2 separate regions of the Homo sapiens genome follow, and region 1 is linked to region 2. Evidence: promoter capture Hi-C in human tissues and cell types (Jung and others, 2019). All regions are on one chromosome and are shown on one strand. The core of a region is centred on a gene start or on the middle of the fragment in contact, and the rest is flanking DNA. Distances in the headings are between cores, read along the strand shown.

The links. Contacts are between HindIII fragments. The study calls those that stand out against the background at their distance.
Region 1: a contact is called between a fragment that was not itself captured here and the fragment with the promoter of CLU in region 2, in 1 of the 25 tissues and cell types used here (H1 embryonic stem cells).

What each region holds. Positions count from the first base shown.
Region 1 is chr8:27,858,474-27,862,041 of GRCh38, forward strand. No RefSeq gene overlaps it. Among named protein-coding and RNA genes, the nearest start is that of PBK, 22 kb to the left of the region's middle. The HindIII fragment of the contact is 4,925 bases long and covers 1-3,568 here.
Region 2 is chr8:27,612,879-27,616,539 of GRCh38, forward strand. It overlaps CLU (clusterin), which reads right to left and starts at 1,822. Exons shown (of 9, transcript NM_001831.4): 1 at 1,777-1,822. RefSeq lists silencers at 235-420, 1,976-2,065 and enhancers at 1,454-1,953, 2,910-3,410. The HindIII fragment of the contact is 13,101 bases long and covers 1-3,661 here.

The DNA of each region.
Region 1 (3,568 bases), core at 802-3,301, 250 kb after region 2:
TTTGCCTCAGTGACCCAAACAGCTAGGAGTACAGGTAATGAGCCTGCCCAGCTAATTTTTGTATTTTTAGTAGAGACGAGGTTTTTCCATGCTGGCCAGGCTGGTCTCGAACTCCTGACCTCAGGTGATCCACCCGCCTCGGCCTCCCAAAGTGCTGGGATTACAGGCATCAGCCACTGCGCCCGGCCAGAACTCAGAATTTTTTTTTTTTAATTTGGAGAATATACATTTCTAAGAATTTTGAACAATTGTGCATACATAATCACTACTGCTATTAGGACACATGATAATTTCATCTTCCAAAAACTTCCCCAGGTCGTCCTTGGTAGTCAAATCTTCTCCTTACTCCTAAAACCTGGCAATACTGGTATCATCTTGGCCTCTATACTCTTACCTTTTCAAGAACGTCCCAATGTGGAATCATACAGTGGGTAATCCTTGGGGCCTGGCTTCTCTCACTTAGCACAGCATATTTGAGATTCATCTGTGCTCTTGCATGTGTCAATAGTTCATTTCTTTTCATTCCTAAGCAGTAGTGTGTCATTTGGGTGTACCCCTTTGTTTTGGCATTTATGAATAACACTGCTATAAAGTTTCATGGACAGGCTTTCATGTGAACAGAGATTTTCATTCCTCTAGGGTAAATGCCTAGAGTTGGGGTGCTGGCTCATATAAGCTTATGTTTAACTATATTTCATATTTTATCTTATTTATTATTTATTTACTTTATATATTTTTTAATCTTTTAATTTTTTTTTGAGACAGAGTCTCACTCTGTCACCCAGGCTGGAGTATAGTGGCTCGATCTCAGTTCACTGCAACCTCTGCCTCCTGGGTTAAAGCAATTCTCATGTCTCAGCCTCCTGAGTAGCTGGGAATACAGGCGCACGTCACCACGCTTGGCTAATTTTGGTATTTTCAGTAGATATGGGCTTTGCCATGTTGATCAGGCTGGTCTCGAACTCCCGGCCTCAAGTAATTCACCTGCCTCGGCCTCCCAAAGTGCTGGAATTACAGGTGTGAGCTACCACGCCAGGACTATCTTGTTTTTTTTAGAGACAGGGTCTCAGTCATCTCACCCAGGTTAGAGTGCGGTGGTGTAGTCATAGCTCACTGCAGCCTTGAACTCCTAGGCTCAAAGGATCCACCCAACTGAGCCTCCCAAGTAGCTGGAGTCCTGGGCGCATGCCACCATGCATGGCTAATTTTTATTCTTATTTTTTTGTAGAGGTAGGGTTTCACTCTGTTGCCCAGGCTGGTCTCAAACTCCTGGCTTCAAGTGATCCTTCTGCCTTGGCCTCCCAAAGTGCTGGGATTGCAGGTGTGAGCCACCTCACCTGGCCTTTTTATAAAAAACAGCTCAACTATTTTCCAAAATGGCTAAGCCATTTCACATTCCCCCCAGCAGAGTATGAGAGTTCCAGTTGCTGTGTACCTGCATCATAATTGGTATTGCCAGGTTTGGGTTTTGTGTGTGTGTGTGGAAATTTTGACCCTCCTCATGGGTGTGTAGTGGTGTGGTTTGACAGTGTGGAGTATCTTTTCATGCACTTATTTGATATACGTGTATCTTCTTTGCTGAACTGTCTTCTCAAATGTTTTGCCTAGTTTTTCACTGGGTTATTTCCTTATGAGTGAGCTGGCCAGATTGCATTTGAGAGGCCTTTGTGATATCTGGGTGATAATGGAGGCCCTTGGAGACACATGCTTGGATGTTCAGAGATGTCTCATCTGGAGATGCTCACTTGCAAGTCAGTGGCACATAGAGATGCATGAAATAGTCCAAGGACTGCTTGTAGAACAGAGCTTTGAGGCATTCCAGCACTCAGTGGCCAGAGAGGAAGGTGAGCCTGCGAAGGATGCTGAGGACGGGCAGCAACAGAGGTCAGAGGGAAACCTTAAACATGTGGTTTCAGCAAAGCCACAGATGAGGCTTTGCTTCTTTTTTTGTTGTTGTTGTTTTTTGAGGTAGAGTTTTGCTGTTGTCTCCCAGGCTGGAGTGCAATGGTGTGATCCCTGCTCACTGCAACCTCTGCCTCCCGGGTTCAAGTGATCCTTCTGCCTCAGCCTCCTGAGTAGCTGGGATTAGAGGCACCCACCACCATGCCTGGCTATTTTTTTTTATTTTTAGTAGAGATGTGGTTTCACCATGTTGGCCAGGCTGGTCTTGAACTCCTGACCTCAGGTGATCCACCCGCCTCAGCCTCCCAAAGTGCTGGGATTACAGGCGTGAGCTGCTGCACTCAGCCGAGGCTTTGCTTCATTCTACAAACAGAAGAAGGCAGACAACAGAGTTGAATGCTGATCAGATATGATAAAGGCTGCAAAAGATGTGTTTGGTGTACCAAGGAAGATGCCATTGGTAAGCCTAGGAAAGTTTCAGTGGCCCTAAATGGGGGGATGGATTGGACCATGCTGAGGAGGGAGTGGGAGTGAGGAAATGGAGTCAGCAGGTCAACTCTTTTTATTTTCTAATTTTAAAAATTAGTTTATTTTTTAGAGACAGGGTATTGCTCTATGGCCCATGCTGGAGGGCAGTGGTGTGATCATAGTTCACTGCAGCCTCAAACTCCTGGGCTCAAGTGATCCTCCCATCTCAGCCTCCTGAGTAGCTGAGACTGCAGGTGCGCTCCACCATGCCCAGCTAATTTTAAAAATATTTTTCGTAGAGACGAAAAATATTCGTCGCTGTGTTGCCCAGGCTCAAGTGATGCTCCTGTCTCAGCCTCCCAAAGTGCTGGGATTACAGGCCTGAGCCACAGTGCCCGATCCAGCTAATCTCTTTTGAGATGTGGCTTTAAAGAGGAGATAGATAGATTAGTAAATGGAAGAGTAGGATCAAGGGAATCGCATTCTTAGGCTTTGCTGAAATTTGAGAATTTCTACATTAAGACATGACTCTTCATTTACTCATGAACTCAACATTTGAGGTCCTGCTATGTGCCAAGTACTACGCTCCTTGCTGAGGAAAGAAAGCTGAATACAATGGAGGCCCCAGATGACAGGCCACTAACTATGTAGATGGCAGCCCCGTCTATCAACTCGAGCAGAACAGACAGTTCTGTTTATGGCATTAAGATACAAGAGTGTTCTTACTGGTAACATCTTTCCGTAGAAATTGTGAATTTTGTCTTAGGCTACATAGGTTTCAAGGTTATAAAATACCAGATCTGGGAGGGAACTGAGAGATCATCTCATTCAAAGGTAGGAATTTGAGTCCCAGAGAGGCTTAGCAGCTTGCCCAAGGACGCACATCTCCTAAGTGGCAGATTCAGGGACAGAGCCCTTATCTTCTGCTTCCCAGTTCAGGGAATTTTCCACTACTCCATGCCAGATGATACACGTAAGTGTCACTTTCTGCATTTCTAAATTCATATAGCTTAACCATTCCTTTAAGTGGTAATGTTAATGAATTCCATGAGTTAGTGCTTATTTTCCACATTCTGCCAATTAGTTGTGGGTTGGGGGTGATCCATTCCAAGGCCCTGGATTATTAAGTGCAGTGTCAGCTGTTTTTTGAAGGTAATTCATTCCAAAGCTTGGACCAATTACACCTAGCAGAATTGAG
Region 2 (3,661 bases), core at 572-3,071:
TGCTCCTTCTACCAGAAAAGGCCGGTTCTGTGGACAAAGGGGCTGCTCAGGGGAAGAGGAGGAGGAGAAGATGGCGGGGGGTGGGGGGCAGGGGGGGCGGGGGGAGCAGGCAGACTTTGGGAGCAACTCCCCTCCAGGCACACCCTCCTGGGAACTTTGAACTGAGCAGCTTCCCAAAACGTTTCCAAGCAGGGCAGGGCTGGAGGCTTAAGAAAATCAATGACCTGGCAGGGCGCATTGATTCACACCTGTCACCCCAGCACTTTGGGAGGCCAAGACAGGCGGATTACTTGAGATCAGGAGTTCGAGACCAGCCTGGCCAAGGTGGTGAAACCATGTCTCTACTAAAAATACAAAAATTAGCCGGATGTAGCAGCATGCGCCTGTAGTCCCAGCTACTCAGAGGCTGAGGCATGAGAACTGCTTGAACCCGGATGGCGGAGGTTGCAGTGAGCCGAGATGGCGCTACTCTACTCCAGCCTGGGCAACAGAGTGAGACTTGGTCTCAGGAAAAAAAAAAAAAAAGAGAGAAAAGAAAGAAAGAAAATCAATGACTGTGAACAGGGAGCCGTGGGGAGGATGGGAAGACAGTGAAGAGGGCACACAGATGGTGAGGGTTTCAATCCCAAAGCCCCGGCTCCTATCTGCTTCTTCAAATGGAGAAAACTAAACCAAAAGGAAAATAAGAAAAATAATCACCGGTAATTCATATCACCCAGAGGCAAAGGTTAGCACTGTGGTATATTTCCTTCTGTCTTCCATGCAGTTTATACAAGATTCTTCACATTCACCATCTTCAAATATTCTTTAAGGGCATACTTTTATGGCTATGTAATACTCCACTTACTCACGGACCTAAGTTTATTTTACCATTCTCACAAGATTGGCCATTTCAGTTGTGCCCAATGCTCCACTATTATTATAACTTAACATTTTCATGGGCATCTTTTTTTATATAGTATCTGTACTTTCCTTTAAATTCCTAACCTCTCCGTTTAAAAAATAATAATAAAAATCATATTTTTTTTAACTAGGTCCAGAAATTCTGGAAGGTCAAGAGGCTTTGGCTCGAATCCCAATTCTGATACTTATTTGCTGTTTAGTGTTGGCACCAGTCCTAAACCTCTCCAGGCCTCAGATTATCATCTGTAAAATGAGACTGTGGAATCAGAGGTCTGAGGCCTGGTGGATCTTGTGTGACTTTTCTCTGATGCACCTCAGATGCATTAGGAGGCAGAAAAAGTCGGATTTCGGTGGTTGCAGCATATACTGAAATCCGCAGCCTCATACTTACAGGCAACAGTGTCCAGAGAGCTAGAGAATTTAGAAGAAAACTAGATGACTCATGCATGCAAGCCGAAAGCCACAACTGAGAGATCCGCATCTTCGCAGAGGATATGCTGCAGGAAGGAGCTCGGTGCAGGCCAGCTCTGTCACCTGCTAGCCTGGGTCTCCCGCAACGCGGCAGGTCTCCAGGTCTCAGTTTCCCCATCTTTGCGAAAGGATGATCATTATATCTGTTCTATTTACCCCCCCACCACAGAATTGTGGTTGGAGCTCGTGCTCTCAGGCGGCGGTTGCGCCGGGGCCCCTGGCTCAGCTGCCTGGTGATGGGGCTCCGGCCACCTCCCCTCCCTGGCTTCCTGGGCTCCGTCGAAAGCGCAGGGGTTGTGACTGCGAGCTGTGTCATCCCTCTCTGCCTGGCTGCCATCCCCTGCCCGCCCATCCGTCCTGGTGTGGCTCTGCTCAAGGGTAGGGAAGACGGGGACATCTCACCGGTCAGCGGCACCCTGTGCCCGCGCGCTCCTCCTGGCGACGCCGCGTTGTGGGCACTGGGAGGCGCCGTATTTATAGCGCTCTGCTCGCGCACACACCCCCTTTGGGGCTGGCTGCAAACCTGCATGACTCACGCCCAAAGAATGCCGCGGAAAGCAAGGGGAGCTTTCTGGAAGCCGGGAGGTGGGGGCCGGTGCAGCACCGGGCTGGGGGCGCCGGGGGGCGCATCATCACCACGAATAGCTGTGCTGGCTCCAGGAGAGACCCTGAGGTGCGGCCGCTCGGCGCTTCCAGTAGGGAAGAGCCTGAACTCGCGTGCCCATCTGGGAGCCCCTCTCACGCGGTTAGCCCGGCTGTCTGTCCCAGTCCAAGACACAATCTCACAGTTCCCTGGCCCTACTGACCTTAACCTTCACATTACACAAGCGCCACTTCTCTTGACCCATTTAAATAGTAAAGAGTCAGACATAATGAGGGTGGGATGGAGAGGGGCCTTGTGCTGGAGAAGAGAGCACAGGAAGTATTGAAACGCCTACTCCTGGAAACATCACACTGATGGGGGTCCCTGGACTGACCCGCCAGGCCTGGAGGAAACAGAATTGTGTTTAGGAGTGATCAGAGCAGATATGTGGAGAGCCAGAAGGCCTCTCCGGGGTCCTTGATCCACAGAGCTTAAGCAATCACTGTCCCCATCTTTTTGGAACCCAACCAAGCAGGGTGGGCTTCATGGCTGTGGGACCCTTGCAGATCCACGTTTGGTTTAATGGGCTACTGTGACGGTCTTGAAATTCTTCATAGTTTTTGAACCAGTGGACCTGAATTTTTATTTTGCCCTGAGCCTTCCCAGTTAGGAAATCAGATCTGTGTCCAGAGGGGTTTGCTGGTCTCCAACTGCTGGAGTTCCTTCTGCTGAGAGCAGGGAGAATCTCCTGTCGCAGCCACCCCTCCCCCTGGCAAGGAGGGGCAAATCTAGGAACCCTGGAGGTGCAGCTACTTCTTGGGGAAGAAAGTGAGCTGCCCATTTTGGAGCCAGGGATGTTTAAGCCCCAGGAGAGAAGTCAAGGGGCTGACAGCTGGGGCAATGGGTGGACAGGGCGGGTACAGGCAGCCCCACTGTGGGTGGCAGACTTTGAAAACCATGTGAAACAAAGGGGCTTAAAGGAGAGCTGCGTGGTCAGGGGCTGAGTTTTCCAGTTCAGGATCAGGACTATGGAGGCACAACATGGAGGCCCAGTCCCTTGCTTGCCCAACGTCCAGGGGCCACTAGGACCCCAGTCCTTTTCAGGAGGCAGCCTCGGGGAATCTTCAAGGCCCATGACTAAGTGGGAGAACCCAGACCAGGTCCATGAAAGTCTGATTACAGTCCTAGGTGTGCCCCTAGACACTGGGTGACCTCGGACTAATCACTTTGCCCTTGGGCCTCAGTTTCTTCCATCTGGACGATGAGGAATCGGGAATGGATCATCTCCACGGCTCCCTGCAACCTAACCTAGAGCCAAGCCAAGTATTAGAAGGCCATTAACCCAGAAGAAGAAAAAAATGTCCCAGAAGAGGCTACACTTTATTTTTCTTAAAAAAAAAATGTCTAATTATCAGTAACAGCTACATTTTCTGTGGACAGTGCCTGCTCCTTATCAGTGCCTGCTCCTTATCAATACCTGAGGTTAGAAGAATTGTTTTTGAGCTCGCTCCTTGTAACTTTTCTGTTCTGTAGCTCCCTCAGCATCCGGAACAGAAGGCATAAATCTAGTTATATTTTTAAAAATTAGACTTTGGAGGTCAGTCAGTGAGATCCGCCTTAGCCAGCTGAATTAGGGGAAGGGAAGAGAGGAAGAAAGGACTTGGGAGAAAATAGCATGATTCACAGATTCACAGTCATGACTGT